Regions from separate parts of the Homo sapiens genome. Here all the other regions are linked to region 3. The links are contacts of gene promoters, found by promoter capture Hi-C in blood cells and fetal thymus (Javierre and others, 2016). All regions are on one chromosome and are shown on one strand. Each heading gives the region's core, a stretch centred on a gene start or on the middle of the fragment in contact. The rest is flanking DNA. Distances are from core to core; before and after follow the strand shown. Region 1 overlaps NKAIN2 (sodium/potassium transporting ATPase interacting 2). Region 2 overlaps LOC124901394 (a long non-coding RNA gene). Region 3 holds the start of NKAIN2 (sodium/potassium transporting ATPase interacting 2). Region 4 has its middle 120 kb from the start of RNF217. Region 5 has its middle 1.8 kb from the start of TPD52L1. Region 6 has its middle 96 kb from the start of RNF217.

What was found. Contacts are between HindIII fragments. The CHiCAGO score rates a contact against its expected background, and 5 or more counts as called.
Region 1: a contact is called between a fragment that was not itself captured here and the fragment with the promoter of NKAIN2 in region 3, in 3 of 17 cell types (M0 macrophages, M2 macrophages and monocytes). The highest score is 9.7, in M0 macrophages.
Region 2: a contact is called between a fragment that was not itself captured here and the fragment with the promoter of NKAIN2 in region 3, in 10 of 17 cell types (naive CD4 T cells, fetal thymus, total CD4 T cells and 7 more). The highest score is 14.6, in naive CD4 T cells.
Region 4: a contact is called between a fragment that was not itself captured here and the fragment with the promoter of NKAIN2 in region 3, in 7 of 17 cell types (M2 macrophages, M0 macrophages, M1 macrophages and 4 more). The highest score is 27.1, in M2 macrophages.
Region 5: a contact is called between a fragment that was not itself captured here and the fragment with the promoter of NKAIN2 in region 3, in 1 of 17 cell types (M2 macrophages). The highest score is 6.0, in M2 macrophages.
Region 6: a contact is called between a fragment that was not itself captured here and the fragment with the promoter of NKAIN2 in region 3, in 3 of 17 cell types (M2 macrophages, M0 macrophages and M1 macrophages). The highest score is 15.1, in M2 macrophages.

Annotation. Positions count from the first base shown.
Region 1 is chr6:124,823,589-124,826,288 of GRCh38, forward strand. NKAIN2 (sodium/potassium transporting ATPase interacting 2) reads left to right here. Exons shown (of 7, transcript NM_001040214.3): 7 at 1-2,052. Among named protein-coding and RNA genes, the nearest start is that of RNF217, 140 kb to the right of the region's middle. The HindIII fragment of the contact is 4,924 bases long and covers 1-2,700 here.
Region 2 is chr6:125,115,009-125,117,708 of GRCh38, forward strand. LOC124901394 (a long non-coding RNA gene) reads right to left here. Exons shown (of 2, transcript XR_007059735.1): 2 at 2,619-2,700. Among named protein-coding and RNA genes, the nearest start is that of TPD52L1, 37 kb to the right of the region's middle. The HindIII fragment of the contact is 4,517 bases long and covers 1-2,700 here.
Region 3 is chr6:123,802,604-123,805,320 of GRCh38, forward strand. It overlaps NKAIN2 (sodium/potassium transporting ATPase interacting 2), which reads left to right and starts at 1,262. Exons shown (of 7, transcript NM_001040214.3): 1 at 1,262-1,651. The coding sequence starts at 1,598. RefSeq lists an enhancer at 18-67. The HindIII fragment of the contact is 9,489 bases long and covers 1-2,717 here.
Region 4 is chr6:124,844,314-124,847,013 of GRCh38, forward strand. No RefSeq gene overlaps it. Among named protein-coding and RNA genes, the nearest start is that of RNF217, 120 kb to the right of the region's middle. The HindIII fragment of the contact is 589 bases long and covers 1,105-1,693 here.
Region 5 is chr6:125,150,613-125,153,312 of GRCh38, forward strand. No RefSeq gene overlaps it. Among named protein-coding and RNA genes, the nearest start is that of TPD52L1, 1.8 kb to the right of the region's middle. The HindIII fragment of the contact is 876 bases long and covers 825-1,700 here.
Region 6 is chr6:124,865,459-124,868,216 of GRCh38, forward strand. No RefSeq gene overlaps it. Among named protein-coding and RNA genes, the nearest start is that of RNF217, 96 kb to the right of the region's middle. The HindIII fragment of the contact is 4,648 bases long and covers 1-2,758 here.

The DNA.
Region 1 (2,700 bases), core at 138-2,637, 1.0 Mb after region 3:
TTGGCCTCTGTGAGCTGGGAAGTCATCCAAGGCACATTAGTTTGAGAGCTCTGTCTTCTGCACTCCATACATCTTGACAGCACCACGGCTACTTAGGCAATGTAATTGCAAAAACAAACGAAACATGCCATGATGACCTTGTACCCGAAGTCCGAAATGGCAGATTGTTTGCCCTAAAGGCTGTACCGTACATACTTGCCTTAACCCACCTACATTGTGTGCCCAAGAATCCCAGTGCAGACAGCCCCAAGCCACTTCCTTTAGGCTAACACACTGCTATTAATTCTAAATGAGTTCAAGCCTGTGTGTTTCATGTCAAGGAACAAGACTGAATAGCTCAGCAGCTCCAGTGTGTCTGTATAAGAAAAGTGCCAGCTGTCAGCAAAGTGCTTTACCATAGAGCCTCCATGGTGGCCCAAAAGAGACAAGTAACAATAACAATATCTGTCATCTTTATAATTCTAAAATATGGTCTTCTGATGGGGTTGGGGGTGGGACAGAGTAAAACATTAATCTACTAAACTCACTAATCTACTGGAAGCAGAAAGCAGAAATGGCTTAACTCGCTGATTTTATTTATTGCACTCTAGGTGCTTTTATAAGTATCTACAATTGTCTTTTACTAACACAGAAACAGCTGTGGATTTCTATCAACAGAGGCCAACTGAATATGTATTAGCTATGTTTACTCTTTTATATCTAATTCAAATTGAAGACTCTACGTAGGTGAACTTTTTTTTCTAACTTCAGTGTACAAGATTATTTTTGGGTGGGTGGGGGGAGCAATAGTTACCTTGGTGAAATATTTGAGATCTTTTTGTGGTATTTGGGGGATCTGTTGTGTGTTAGAGTGTATTTCAACCCTCCTGTATTATTGTGGCAGAAAAACTGTGCTGTTAACGTAGTTGGCAACAAGATGCCTTTGGAAACTTAATAGTAGGTCAATGTGTTTATGGAATATTCTGAACTCCTAGGAAATTTTGTTCTATATTTTAAAGCATTATTTGGTTTTCATTAGTGGAAAACATAATTAGCTCAGGCTTATCAGGAACTCAGATGAGTCATATTTTTTCTTGGATACACCTGAGACATTAAACTCAATTTTTTAAAACTAACACACCATTCTTTAGTGCAGTGAAATTCAAAAGTTATAAATTGGCATGGAGCAAGTTTTTTCTTTGATTTCTATGAAGTTTCAGTTATTGGATTAAACTACTTTAGACCTTAGCCCATTCGGATCTACATACACCAGTTCCATTACTGTGTTTGCATGGATGTCTGTAATATACACACACATATACATTTGAAAATGATAGAGGAACAAAGAGTTATCATTGGAACATAAACTATAAAAAAAGATTCCAGCACTCATGCTTGAATTTCCTCAGTGGGTTGTATGTTTGTCCATACATACATGTATAAAATAAACAATTGCAAACATGTCAGTGAAACCTCATATGACGCTTTTATAGTGACATGCATGTTTAATGTATGAGAAAAATATTTACCAATGTATTGTCCTTTGAGTCCTAAAATATAAATACTATACATGCCAGAAACTATTCTAATGTGACTTTTAATGTGACTATTAAAAATGAGGTTTCACTGTACATTCATGCTGTGATGCGATTTCACCTTATAGTACATGTATATGGGTACAGAAAATAAACCCTCATATTCCTGCTTTAAGTTACAGCCAAGTTTTCACCAAATCACAACTATCATCACCACCAAAATTTTAAAAAACAGTAGTTGACTACTAAAAAGTAATCAGTGGACAGGTCATTTATGGGATCAGTAAGCACAGTAGTGTGATTATATCTGGGAAAACATCTACAGTTGTACAGCTGTATCCTCCTCAAAATCCGGTGAAGAATGCTATTTTTCTAGGCTGAGCTTTTGTTATAAACTTAATATTCAGAAGGCAAGGGTTATGATCCTGATGTGTCCTTTTTTTTTGCATTTGTTAATTCTGAATGTATTTTTAACAGAATGATTTTTTTGACTTACTAGTGTAATTTGCATTTTAAAAATAAATGGAAAAATACTTAAGTTTCTGAGCCATCCCTGAAAACCCCTGCTGCTTCTCATGGTGTATTTGCTTATGTCATTGACAGAGACACCCTATTAAATTTACATGAAGGCAACACTGATATTTTGTGCAGTGCAGGGATGTGTCAGCAGTGAAAAGAAATTGCCGGGTCATGGCATCATTTCTACTCAGTCATAGGTAACACGTACTTTCATTATCTGCTAACACTGAGGGTTCTTTTAGAAGACTGCCTGCAATAGACTTTTCATTTGGGGAACCTTCCTCCACCCCCACCTTCTATCTGGGATTTAGAGTTAGCATCAAGCTAATTAATAGTTGGCAGAGGGTTAGGTCACTACATTTAAAAATCTTGGTTAAATTATAGGCAGAGCTTTTTTTTTATTTTTATAGGCCAAATTATTTAAAATAATCTAAAATACTCATTTATTTCCACTTTGATGACAGGATCTTTTGTTATTGTTGTTTGAATATTGATATTCACCTCAACAGATGACAGTGTTGAGATAAAGCAGGCAAATAGGAAGGATTAGCCACTGGCATTAGCGATTGTACAAACATTGTTTCAGGTGAGGTTCATTGTATATACCTAAATGATTGAGGGCAGCAGGCGCAGGCTGCTCCAAGCACAGGCTGTGTCAGGTTCGGGA
Region 2 (2,700 bases), core at 57-2,556, 1.3 Mb after region 3:
CATCATGGCAATGCAGGGAGAGAAGTGGGCAGTGGCCCCACTGGGCAAGGCCTCTTGTGTCATGCAGAAGACTGTGGATTTGCTTACTGTAGATTCATCATTTCCACAAAAATAGAGGCTCATGAAATTTTAAGAAATATTCCCACCACCATTGAAATATGTGTATTTGTGGTGTGTGTGTTTGTGTGTGTGTGTGTGTGTGTGTGTGTGTGTAGTCAACTTTGGGAAATGCTGAGTTAATCCAAATTAAGCAGAATTTTGTTTTTATTATAGAAATTGTTATAATATAATAAAATTATAAGAGGGAGTGATAATATGAATATTTCACAATGTGTTTGATCTTGAAATCTGTTTACTTTTTAAAATGTTATCTGATTTGTTTTATTTATTTTAGAAGCAATATAGATAACATCAGGTAGATAAAATTTTGAGAAATGCCCTTGGGTTATGGAGAGTTTTTTTTAATTTATGAAGATAGTAATAACATGATTAGATTTGTGATAGTAATAACATTATTAGATCATGGATAACAATATGGTTGTGATTTTCAGGGGGAAAAAACTAGAGGCTGCCAAATAAACTAGATGATGGCTGGATCACCCCTAATCCACATGTAGAAAATGTAATACACTCACTGTGTATATCATGAATTTTAAACTATGAGAACATAAAAACAGATTTAGGGTATAGTACATTCAAGGGCAGTAGTTTATGCTCTTCAAAAAACAGACTCATTAAATAAAGCAATGGTCCTTGTTGGAAGAAATGATACTACCCAAGAGACAAAAAGAACTGACAGACTTCATAGAAAGATACATAAATATTACATGCCAAGGAGAAATTAGTACAACATTAAGCAAATTTGAGTAATAGCAAATAGAGAATTGTGATGATAGAATCAAACATAATAAATGCTCCACAACAATGCATAAATTACAGAATATAATAACTATAATTATTATAAATAAATAATGTATGTCAATATTCTGCTGCTTTTATTGAAAACAATAGATCTAGGTGGAGCACTCTAGCTTATGAATTGTTGAAATCAACTGTGACTATTATCATTGTGAGTTATTGAAACCAGATGAGGGAGTGAATGTGTGTGTGTGTGTGTGTGTATGTGTGTTAGTGCAGGTAAGCTAGAAATAGGGAGAGGAGGATGGAGAAGAGATAATAAGGTAGAAAGCACAATTCCTTTAATATTTGAGTCAAAAGGGAAGAATACTTTTTTCTACAGGCCATTGAATTATGCAAGCAGTTTGATGGATCTTGTTTGCTCTCAGATTGATTTTCTTCACCAGCATTTAGAGTGGCTGCTATATTCATGTGACAGTTATGAGGAATAATTATGTATTTTCCTTACTGAACTGGTTTAAAATGTCACATCGCATGAAAGTTCCTACAGCTTGTCAAATTGTGTTAATTTTCTTCATTTTTCTAGTGAATGCTTTAAACTGTTCACCCAGCTCATGAATAGAGCAGCCCTTTTCTTCCTCCTCTGAAAAAACAGATGATTGTTTAACAGATATCATTAGATATGCAGAAAATAAAGCATTCTGGTATAGATGGAGGTCAATATATTTAAGAGGAAGTTGCATATTTTTTCTTTTTGCAAGTTTGTCCACCAATATGGTGCAACATTGACTTCAAGTAAATTTAATCCACCAACCTTGGTTGTTAATTTGTATTTTCACTGAATATTCGCTAATGTTTTTTATAGGATGCACTGTGATAGTAATTATTTAAGTGTTTCCAGGAATGGAGAGAAAGAAAACTAGAAATTGGAGGCAATGTGGCATAATGGTTAAGAACGAAGGCTGAGGAGTTAATCTGGATTTATGTCCCATCTCCACTGTTATTAGCTGTTTGATCCAAGCCAGTCAAATAATCTAAGACTCAGTTTCTTCATCTGTAAGATGGGGATAATAATACCAACCTCCAAAGAGACGTTACAAACACACACTCACACACACACACACACACACAAATGTGTATGCGTGTGTGTATATGATGATTATTTTAGCACAGTCAAAATAAAATTGCTAATATTTACTTAAACTAGTATAATTACTTTGGTTTTTCCTTTCAAAATGAAAATTGGAACATAACTTCTAATACTATTGGTAATAGAACCATCAGGCTTTCCAGATTCTCCGTGGGTTCCACTTACCCACATACCTATCCAACCTTATCTATAATTAATTCTCAGAATTAACCCCTCATTTCAGTGGGGCTGGCCTTATTAACCAGCCTTCCTCCACCTCTGCCATTCTTGTTTCTGTCTCATACTTTTTTCCAACTCCTTAGAAAGCCTTTCCTTCTCCCCATCAACCATCTCACTGCACAGATTTGATGGCATGACGTCTTGCTCGAAGTCTACTTACTTGTTCTTGAATACTGCTTGATATTGTTATTAAACATACTGATTCTTAAATTTTTGAAATCCCAATCATCATCCTTAACATTTGTAAATTTTTTACAATTATAACCATCATATTATAAATGATGAAAGATATCTCAAAAGTTTTTTTTTAACATTCCTCGAACACTCTTTGGAACCATCTTTCTTGCTTTCAATAAATTCTATTCTCTAGACACTCCAAATGAACCTTCACTTTGAAATGACACACTATTTTTATTTTTCTCAATCCAACTTACCAAATTCAAGTCCTTAATTCTTTTTTTGAGGTATTAGCA
Region 3 (2,717 bases), core at 12-2,511:
ATAATCTTCACTTCCTGGAAAAGTTAGGATTGCTTTCCTTAGCTGCCAGGGCTAAAAAGGAAACTTGGTCCTAAATATCCACGCCCCAGGGGCAGCCACTTGGGCCAGCATGTTGCGCCCTTCAGCTTTCCGCCCGCAGGTGGCAGCAGCGGGCTCCGAAGCCTGTCTCTGCAGGTAGCAGCCGCTTCACAGCTTTCAGGCCGGTGCTCAGCGGAGGCTGGTGCATCTCCACTAGGAATCCACACCCAGCTGGGACTGCTGTGAAGCTGAAGTAACTGAGTATTAAACTAGTCTCCGACTCTTTAGTATTTTAAGTGAAAACAAACAACAGTTTGAAGCAGCAACAGCAACTCATTGCATCCCTATTCCCTCCGGTTGCTAATTTTTCCCAACTCCAGCAGCAACTCGGTCCCCTTCCCCAAGCAGGGTCGGCTCCGTAGCTCTCCGCGCTCCGACCCTTCAGATCCTCGGGAGCCCAGGGGAGCCAGGTGCTGGGCGGTGCGTCCGGTGCCGCCGCGCCCCTTCTCGCCACCTCTGGCCTCTCCGCCACTCGGGCTTTCCGGCCGCTCTGGATGCCTCGGTTGCACCCCTGTTCCATGACCCCAGCTTCCTTCCCTAACCCTCCTCTTGGTCCCTTCTCCCCCGAGCGCGCGCGCACACACACACTCGGTTCGCTCCCGCGGAGTGGCTCTGGGAGCACGACCGACTTCAGCTCAGCAAACCGCGGTCATGCCGCCCAGACTCCTCGCCCCGAGGCCCCGGTCCCCGCCGCCGCCGCTTTCGCGCCGCTCCTTTCCGCCTAGACACCGCCGCCTGCGGCCGCCTGGGCGGCAGCCCCTGCGGTCCTCAAAGTTGGCCCCCTGGGAGGGGGCGGCAGGGAGCAGGATGAAGGATTTGTTGTAGGAGGAGGATTCACACATCTGGGCGAAGGGAGGGGCAGCGCCGCTGCTGGGACGCGGCGCGGACCCGCATCATTGCGCGCAGCAGCCGCTGCAGCAGCCGCCGGGGACCGCGGAGCCGGGACGCCCCCGCTCGGCCCGCGCCCCGCTCCCCGCCCCACCCCCGCCCGCCGGGCCCAGCAACGCAGGGTGCCTAGGAGCCGCGGGCTGCGCAGGGAGGCGGGCAGCGGCCCTCGCGCGCTTCTGCCGCCCCCGGAGCCGGCGCGCGGCGAGCGCAGGGCGAGCGCGCGTCGGGCGGCGGCCGCGCTGGGGGGCGTGAGGCGAGCGGCGCGGAGAGCGGCAGGGGCGAAACTTCGCGGGCCAGATGCCCGAGGGCGCGGCGGCGCTGCCAGGCTGCCGCTGCTGCCCCTGCGGGCCCCGAGCGCGCCTCCGCAGGCGGCACTGCCCGCGGCGCGGCGTGTGCACCGAGCGAGTGAAGGTATGTGTGGCGGGCGCGGCTGGAGCTGCCGCCGCCGCCGCCGCCGCGCCAGCAGGTCCTAATGCCTGTCACTTCCCAGGACGCTGGCAGCAGCAGCAGCCCGGAGCCCCCGAGCCCTCGGCAGGTTTGCGTGTCCTTCCCCGCGATCTGATTGGATAAAGTGGGGGCTCGACGGTGGCCGACGTGGGACAGTCTGGCTGTGGCAGGGGTCTCGGAAACCATGGGTTATTGCAGTGGCAGGTGCACGCTTATCTTTATCTGTGGCATGCAACTGGTAAGTGACACTTGGGTCCCCTTATTCTGTAATGTGTCTTTGAGATAGTGGGCAGGGGAGTGCAGCAAAGGGTCTGCCATTGACTAGAATGGACGAAAAAGATAAAAGAGAAGGTGACAGATATATTGCCTATATTGAAGATGATTTCAGGGAGACGCACTCTGGGGTACAGGAGAGGTGAGCCTTTCCGTTCCCACCTATTTCTGTCCCTTTTAAGACAGTTTGGCAGGTGCGGGTTAAACTTGTCTTTAATTTCTTTAGGAAAAGCAAGATGTAGCTCTTGTTCTTTATGCTTTGCATTCCTATTCATGTAACAACGTGATTGTCACCTACAATTTACCGTACAGGTTGTTAAACAGAGGAATACGGAATTTTGGACTTTTCTTCTCTATACTAATTTTGCAGTATCTTTGTTTCTTCATAGACATGTTTTTTTTCTTTTTTTAAGGAAAATGTTGTCTTTAAGTATAATGCTCTAAAAAAACCACTGTTTAGGGCACATGGTATCCTTACAACAGTCTAATTTAGACTGTTTGAGTTTTAGCCACATTGAGTTTTTAAAGTATGCAGATTGAACAAAAATACTTAGGTGAACTCAGCAACACCATTGTCATAGACGGAACCAGTAACCTTTAAATCACAATTAACACAGACAATTCCAAGAAAAACTATTCTGTCTTACATTATGCATATTATTGCTCCTGAAATAGATACTGTTGTCTGATCCTATAGGATGGAGAATTCTATGTACTTTTTGAGGAATGTTGTACAGTTGCAAAGGGGCAAGGAACCAATAATGGAAAACGTCATGTCTCTGAATTTCAATTCCCTAAGGGCAATGGAAGGAGGGTCTGAGTAGAGAGTTGAGAGGTGAAAAATACACCACTCTAAGTGGTTAATTTGAGGTAGGAGCTACTTGCTCACACTTGTCATTAAATATATTTCCTTAGAAAGTATAAATTAACTGGAATAGTCATGTCCGTTTTCAACAACTGTTTCATAAAGGTTGAAGTGACTACAAGGCAGAAGATGTTTAAGTGTCCAATCAGTAAAGTGTTCAAAAGAG
Region 4 (2,700 bases), core at 149-2,648, 1.0 Mb after region 3:
AGATATTGATAGGTAGGTAGATTTCATATATACATATATATATATAAACACACACAAATATAAATTAGTTCTTTCGAAAACTGTCTGGCAGTATCTATCATCTGTCTATCTGTCTGTCTATCTATCTAATCTTTTAGAAAATACTGCCAAATAGTTCTTCAAGCTATCGTATCAATTTACCCTCTAATCAGCAAACATGCTCTACATCCTCCCCAACACTTATTATTGTCCCTAAGTCTTTTCAATTTTAGCCATTCTGGCAGATATGTTGTGGGGTCTCCATAATTTTTTTTTAGCACTTTTCTGATGACTAGTGATAGGTACCTTTCCATATGCATATTGGTAATTTGGATGTATTCTGTGAAGTTTTTGCTTCATTTTTTATTGTGTTTTGTGTTTTTATCTAATTGGCTTATAAGATTTTGTTATATTTCTCTGAAATATTTATATATAATATATGAATATTTATATATAATATTTATAGAAATAGTTATATAACATATAAATTACAAATATCTTTTCCATATAAAAGATATTTGTAAAATATATATATAACAAATATCTTTCCCCAGTCTGTGGCTTGCATTGCCTTTTTGCTCTTTTCATATTATCTTTTGATTAACAGAAGTTCTTAATTTAAATAAAGTCCAATTTTATCTACTTTTCCTTTCACAATTAGTGCCTTTTTCATCCTGTTTATGAAACCTTGTCTGCCCCAATATCATAAGATATTCTCTTACGTTTTCTTCCATAGCTTCATTGTTTTTCTTTTAACATTTAGGTTTATGATACATTTTGAATTTATTTTTTGGTGTGGTATAAGGAAGAAATTAGGGATCACTTTTTCCAACCTTATATCTAATTGATTTACTGCCAATTTATGAAGAGACCATTCTTCTCCTACTAATTTGTGGTTGCAACTTTGTTTTGAATCAAGTGACTATAAATGTGCAGGTCTATTTCTAGGCTTTGTATTCTGCTCCATTGGTCTATTTGTCTATCCTTGCAGTGATACCACATTGCCCTAAATATTCCAGGTTTATAATTTGTCTTGATATTTGGTAGTGTATGTCCTATGCTTTTGTTATTCATGAAAGTTACCTAAGCTTCTCTAGTCATTTTCATATGGAATTTTAAAGTAGCATATCAATTCTTTAAAAATAAAACCCACTTAAATTAAATTGTGTTCTACCTACACATAATTGAAAAATATTGAGTCTTTGAGTCGATGAATATGAATATTTCCCCATTTATGCAGGTCTTCATAATACTTTATTATTCTTAATGTATACATCTGTACATCTTTCTTTAGATTTATTGCCAGGTATTTGCTGGTGTGTGTCCTATTTAACACATGTGTATAAATGCGAATAAATATATAAAAGTCAAAATATATAGAAATCAAATTAGTTTTTGTATGTTGACTTTGAATTCAGCAACTTGGTAAATTTACTTAATAATCAATGTGTGGATTGTCTAAGATTTTCTATTTACACAACTGTATCCTCTACAATGTAATGATTTTATTTATTGTTTTTCAATAAGAATATCTTTTATTGACTTTTTAAATAAAGATACTAATAACTTTATTATAGTGTTGAATAGAAATTTTGATAGTGAATATCTTTGTGCTTTCTTAATTTCAATGAAAAATTGATGGAAATTTCAGCATTGACTAGGGTATTAGCCACAAAGCTTTTGTAGATTTCTCTTATCATATTTTAAAATTTCCCTTTTATTCCTAGTTTGCTGAGAGTTTCCATCATCTGGTGTTGAACTTTATCAAACTGTTTGAACTTTATTCAGGTTCACCTTAAAGATCAGTGACCCTTAGCCTTGGCTCTACATTAGAATCACCCAGAGACTTTGTATCAGTCTGGGTTCAATCAGGAGACGAAAATCACACAGTAATTTGTATAGTCAAAAATCAGTATAAAAATTAACAGAGGATTGGAGCTAAGAGAGAGCACACAAAGAAAAGGCTACCTTCTTCCAATCTGACATCCAGACCTCACTGAAGGGGGCACAGCTGGGTCACTGGATGGCAGATAACTTCTCTGAGGTGCCACACTAGCAGAACTCATTGGAAAACTTATTCTGGAGTGCCAAAGAAAGCTATGCAGAAGAAGGAACGATGTTTCAGAGGTGATTGCGGAACTGCCCAACAGTTATCCACCAGAAGATGCCTAGCCAAGGCACTCTACTACAAAGCCACCTGAAGCGGGTGGTGGCCTGGGGAAAAACAGTCATGGAAACGAAGTCCACTAGTGGCACTCCCTTCTCTGACAGCAGAGAAATTGTGAAGCCACTTGAGGGTTGTACCAGTAGAAGGCACCGTGGACTGCTGGCCACCAGGCACTGACAATAAGCAATGAGCATGCTGCAAGAAGCTAATGAGAGGAGCACACTAGATCCAGGAAGGGAATCTCTGTTTTTCTGCATGGTCCCTCCAGCACCCTCTATGCAAAGCTTAATATCACGCTTGCTGCAAATGAAAAATACATAATGTATCCAGATCCCTAATTGCAAAGCAGTTTTAAAAAAGGAAGGATTTGGAGATAAGATGCAATAAATTGATTAATAGCATAGAGCTCAGAGCTTTTTATCACATACTTCCCAGCTTTTATTCTTCTCTGTTTTCCCTGCCCTACGGCCTTCACTTGTATTTTATGGGATCACCTTCCAGTTAAAATACCAACA
Region 5 (2,700 bases), core at 13-2,512, 1.3 Mb after region 3:
TTTGGTGATTTTTCTGGGCCCCCCAGGATAGCATTGAAGTACTGTCTAGTGTTCCTAGGTGCAAGAAGGTTGTGATGTGCCTTAGAGAGAAAATATATATGTTAAATAAGCTTAATAAACTTGATTCTGGTATGAGTTTTAGTGCTGTTGGCTGTTAGCTCAATGTTAATGAAACAACAATATACATGATATACATGAAATAAGGTGTCTTTAAACTAAAATATATAAAGAAACAAAATTGTGTATTGATCAGTTGACAAAAATGTTAGAACCACGGCTTGTGGAAACCTACCTTCGTATCTCCACTAAGAGTGATGGCTCAGTATTGTAAAACCATGTTCTCTTCCTCTGTCCAGGGCATAGTATCAGACCTTTACAGGCACAACCCGTCTTATTGCGCTTCTCTTAACTGTGCTTCACAGACACTGCATTTTTTTTTTTTTGATGGAGTCTTGCTCTGTTGCCCAGGCTAATCTCGGCTCACTGCAACCTCTGCCTCCCAGGTTCAAGCGATTCTCCTGCCTCAGCCTCCCGAGTAGCTGGGACTGCAGGCGCGTGCCACCACGCCTGGCCAATTTTTTGTATTTTTAGTAAAGATGGGGTTTCAGCATGTTAGTCAGGAAAGTCTTGATCTCCTGACCTCGTGATCCGCCCACCTTGGCCTCTCAAAGTGCTGGGATTACAGGAGTGAGCTATCGCGTTTTTAACAAATTGGAGGTTTGTGGCATCCCCATGTTGAGCAAATCTATTGGTGCCATTTTTCCAATGCCATGTGCTCACTTGATGTCTCTGTGTCACATTTTGGTAATTCTCACAATATTTCAAGCTTTTTCATTATATTATATCTGTTATGGTGATCTGGGATGAGTGATCTTTGATGTTACCATTGTAATTATTTTGGGGAACCCTGATCCATGCCCATATAAGACAGTGAATTGAATCAATAAATCTTGTGTGTGTTCTGACTGCTCCACCAGCCAGCCATTTCCCCATCTCTCTCCCTCTTCTTAGGCCTCTCCATTCTCTGAGACACAACAATATTGTAGTTACGCTCATTAATAACCCTACAATCGCCTCCAAATATTCACATGAAAGGAAGAGTCACATGTCTCTCACCTTAAATCGAAAGCTAGACATGATTAAATTTAGTGAGGAAGGCATGTTGAAAGCTGAGATAGGCCAAAAGCTAGGTCTCTTGTACGAGTTATTCAAGCTGTGAATGCAAAAGAAAACTTCTTGAAGGAGAGTAGAAGTGCTACTCCAGTGAATACACAAACGATAAGGAAGTGAAACAGTTTTCTTGCTGATATGGGGAAAGTTTGAGTGGTCTGGATCAAACCCGATCAAAGCAGTCACAACATTCTCTTAACCACAGCCTAATCCAGGGCAAAGCCCTCACTCTCTTCAATTCTATAAAGCCTGAGAGAGGTGAGGAATCTGTAGAAGAAAAGTTGGAAGCTAGCAGAGACTGGCTCATGAGGCTTAAGGAAAGAAGTCATCTCCATAACATGAATGTAAGGTGAAGCAGCAAGGGCTGATGTCAAAGCTGCAGCAAGTTCTCCAGAAGATCTGGCTAAGATCATTGATGAAGGTAGCTACACGAAACAACACATTTTCAATACGGATGAAACAGCCTTATATTGGAAGAAGATGCTACCAAGGACTTTTACAGCTACAAAGAAGTCAATACCTGGTTTCAAAGCTTCAAAGGACAAACTGACTCTCTTGTTAGGGGCAAAAGTAGCTGGTGACTTTACATTGAAGCCAAAGCTCATTTACCATTCTGAAAATTTTAAAGCCCTTAAGAATTATGCTAAATATATTCCACCTGTGCTCTATAAATGGAACAACAAAACTTGAATGACAGTACATCTGTTTACAGCATGGTTTATTGAATATTTTTAAGCCCACTATTAAGACTTACTGCTCAAAAAATGTTTCTTTCTAAATATTATTGCTTAATATTGGTTAATAATATACTTTGTCACTCAACAGTTGATGGAGATGTACGAAGAGATTAATGTTGTTTTCATGCCTGGCAAAACAACATTCATCTTGTAGCCCATGGATAAAGGAGTAATTTTGACTTTCAAGCCTTATTATTTAAGAAATAAATAGATAGCTGCCATTAATAGTGATTCTTCTGTTGGATGTGGGCAAAGTAAATTGAAAACCTTCTGGAAAAGATTCACCATTCTAGATGCCATTAAGAACATTTATAATTCGTGGGAGGAAGTCAAAACGTCAACATTAACAGGAGTTTGGAAAAAGTTGATTCCAACCCTCCTGAATGACTTTGGGAGTTCAGGACTTCAAAGCAGGAAGTAACTGCAGATATGGTAGAAATAGCAAGAGAACTAGAATTAGAAGTGGAGCCTGAATATGTGAGTAAATTGCTCAATCTCATAAGACTTGAATGGTTGAGGAGTTGCTTCTTATGGACAAGCAAAGAAAATGGTTACTTGAAATGGAATCTACTCCTGGTGAAGTTGTTCACAGCATTGTTGAAATGACAGCAAAAGATTTATAATTATATAAACTTAGTTGATAAAGCAATGGCAGGGTTTGAGATGATTGACTCCAATTTTGAAAAAAGTTATAATGTAGATAAAATGCTATCAACCAGCATTGCATGCTACAGAAAAATCTTTCATAAAAGGAAGAGTCAATTGATGCAGCAAACTTCATTGTTGTCCCATT
Region 6 (2,758 bases), core at 257-2,756, 1.1 Mb after region 3:
AGTCACCTCCACAATGTTTTACCAAAACAAGCAAGCACTACATTTAAAAACAAGCCTATTCCTGCTGTGGTCTGAATGTTGTGTTCCTCCAAAGTTCAAGTTGAAACTTAATCCCCATTGCGGTGGAATTAAGAGGACGGACTTTTTTGAGAAGTGATTAACTTATGAGGGCTCCACCCTCATGAATTAATGCCCTTTTAAAAGAGGCTTCAGAGAGTGACCTGGCCCTTTCGTCCCTTCTGCGATGTAAGGACACAATGTTCATTTTCTTGGGACGATGCGGCCAAAAGGCACCATCTGGGAAGCAGACAGTGGGCAGTTACCAGACGCTAAATCTGCCAGCACCTGGGACATGGACACCACAGTCTCCAGAACTGTGAGAAATAAATTTTTATGCTTTATAAATTACCTGCTCTGTACAGTGTTTTGCATAGCAGCAGAAACGGATTAAGTCAAACACTTTCATCTTTTTTCTGTCTTTGTTTTTGTTGAAATCTGCCTTAAGAATAGGGTACAGGTGTGTGTGTGTATGTGTGTGAAGAAATGAGTGGAATATTATTTTCCCACCCCCCAATAATCTTGTTCATACTCTCAGGTACCACAGCCTATCACCTTGAGACTGCTGGGCAAATAGGAAAGAGGATAAACAAGACAAGGGGAGAAGAAGGAGGGTCTGTGGGACTAATGAGCACTCTAAGGAGAGCAGGGACAAAGTAACACTCTAAACAGAGAGTGGGGCTTCTCTCTCTCTCACTTCCTCTGATTTTAAGTATATGAGTAACACCCAGACACACACACACAAAGAAAGCTAGGGTTACTGATAAGGGAGGAGGCAATGATGGAGCAGTGAATGGGTGACAGGGAAAGCAGAAAGAAACAGAAATATCTATTGGTCATTGCTTGGTGCCTCTTTTAGTTTTCTAGTGCTGCCGTAAGAAATAACCAAGAATTTAGCTCCTTAAAACAACACAAGTTTATTATCTCACGGTTAAGTCAGAAATCCTATGCTTGGATAGTTTCTCTGGGTCCCACGAGACTGAAATCAGGATATCCACAGGGCTGAACTCCTTTCTGGAGTCTCTGAAGATGAATCTGATTCCACCCTTGGCAGAATCGATTATATGCAGTTGTAGAACTGGGGCACTTGTTTTCTTGCTAGCTATAGGCCAGGGGTTGTTCTCAGCTTCAGGATGAGAACAGGTTACTGCCCACGTTCCTTGGCTCACAGCAACATTGGACCAAGTTTTTCACATGCTTCAACTCCCTCTGACTTCCCCATCTGCCATATCGCTGTTTCTGCCTCCATTTTCTGCCTTTGAGAGCTCATATGATTACAGTGGGCCCAATTAGAGTCAGCTGATTGGTGACCTTAATCACATGTATAGAGCCTTTCAGGACAATATCTAGATTAGTGTTTGGTTGAATAACCAGGGGATGGAAATCTTGGGTGGACAACTTTAGAAATCTGCCTACTGTAGTGTGAAGTGCCATGCTGAGATAATACATTCCATATATTATCAAATTTAATTTTCCAAAAAATAGTATAACCAGGTGATAAGTACTGTTATCACTAAAAACAATAGCAACAACAAAAATCTTCCTATTGTTTGTTTCCAGCTGATGATAGCTATCAAGCTACTTTAAAACATCTCTAATAGGATTTTGTTTTTAAAGTTATATATTTAAAAAATAACTCTTCAAAGAACATGTCTGTTGCATAAGCAAGGGACAAGTATAACTGAGGTTATTTTGTATCATTTTAAAGAAAATCTCAACCTGCCTTCTCTCTATGCTCATTTCCATAGTGTGGCCAAAAATCCTAATGCTGAATTAGTGATCATGGCATTTCCATGGCAACATACCAGGGTGCCGCCAGCATAAGGCCTTCTTCTCTTAACTGCAGCATAAACAATTCACCTGATTATGGGCTATTAAAAGGCCACACACAAGGACATGTAAGTAGAAAAAGAAAGGGAAGGTTCTGGTAATGTACATTGGAATACATTTTGGCAATCCCTAATAAGCAACCTGAGAAAGAAGATACTGAGAAAATGGTAAAGAATTCTTCCAATTGGATTTTGCAAAAATTGGACAGGTTCTCAGCCAGCTGACTTTGTGGAAGTGCTTCTGCAAGATTTTAGGATAGTTTTTCTCTGTAGAAAGTGCTGATTTTAAAATATTTCTCTTTCCTTCTCCCTCATTATCCACACACACAAAAATTCTTTTCTCACTACATAAATACAAAAGTAAGACAGTTTATGACATACTTATGTTATGTATATATTATTTTAAGCCAAGAGAGAGAAGTAAAAGAATATATAATTTGGATTTTTTTATATCAGAAACAAAGCCCAGGAAGAAAACATCTTTTTAAAAACATCATTCACAAAGTTTCTTTAAACCCAGCAAAACCCATACCACTGTCTTGGTAGGTGTCCTACAAATTGTGAGTAGATAAACTTTGAATTGAGCCTTTCCAGACAGACCCCTTAGTATCATATGTATCCTTGTCTAGGCTGTCAACTAATGCAGAGATTTCTGTCTACCTTATCATTTTTTAAAATTCAAATACTCATGGGGGAAGACATGTTTTAAGTCACATTAAAATGAGTGAGTTTTATCAAGTACAGTATCTTACTATCCAGCTGTTCAGAGCCCACCACTATCCTTAAGAAAAAGGGGTAGAACCACTTCCCTTTAGGCACATCCTTCCTATACACCCCCAGACTGCCTTTTTATAAGTTCTGCCCCCAAGGGT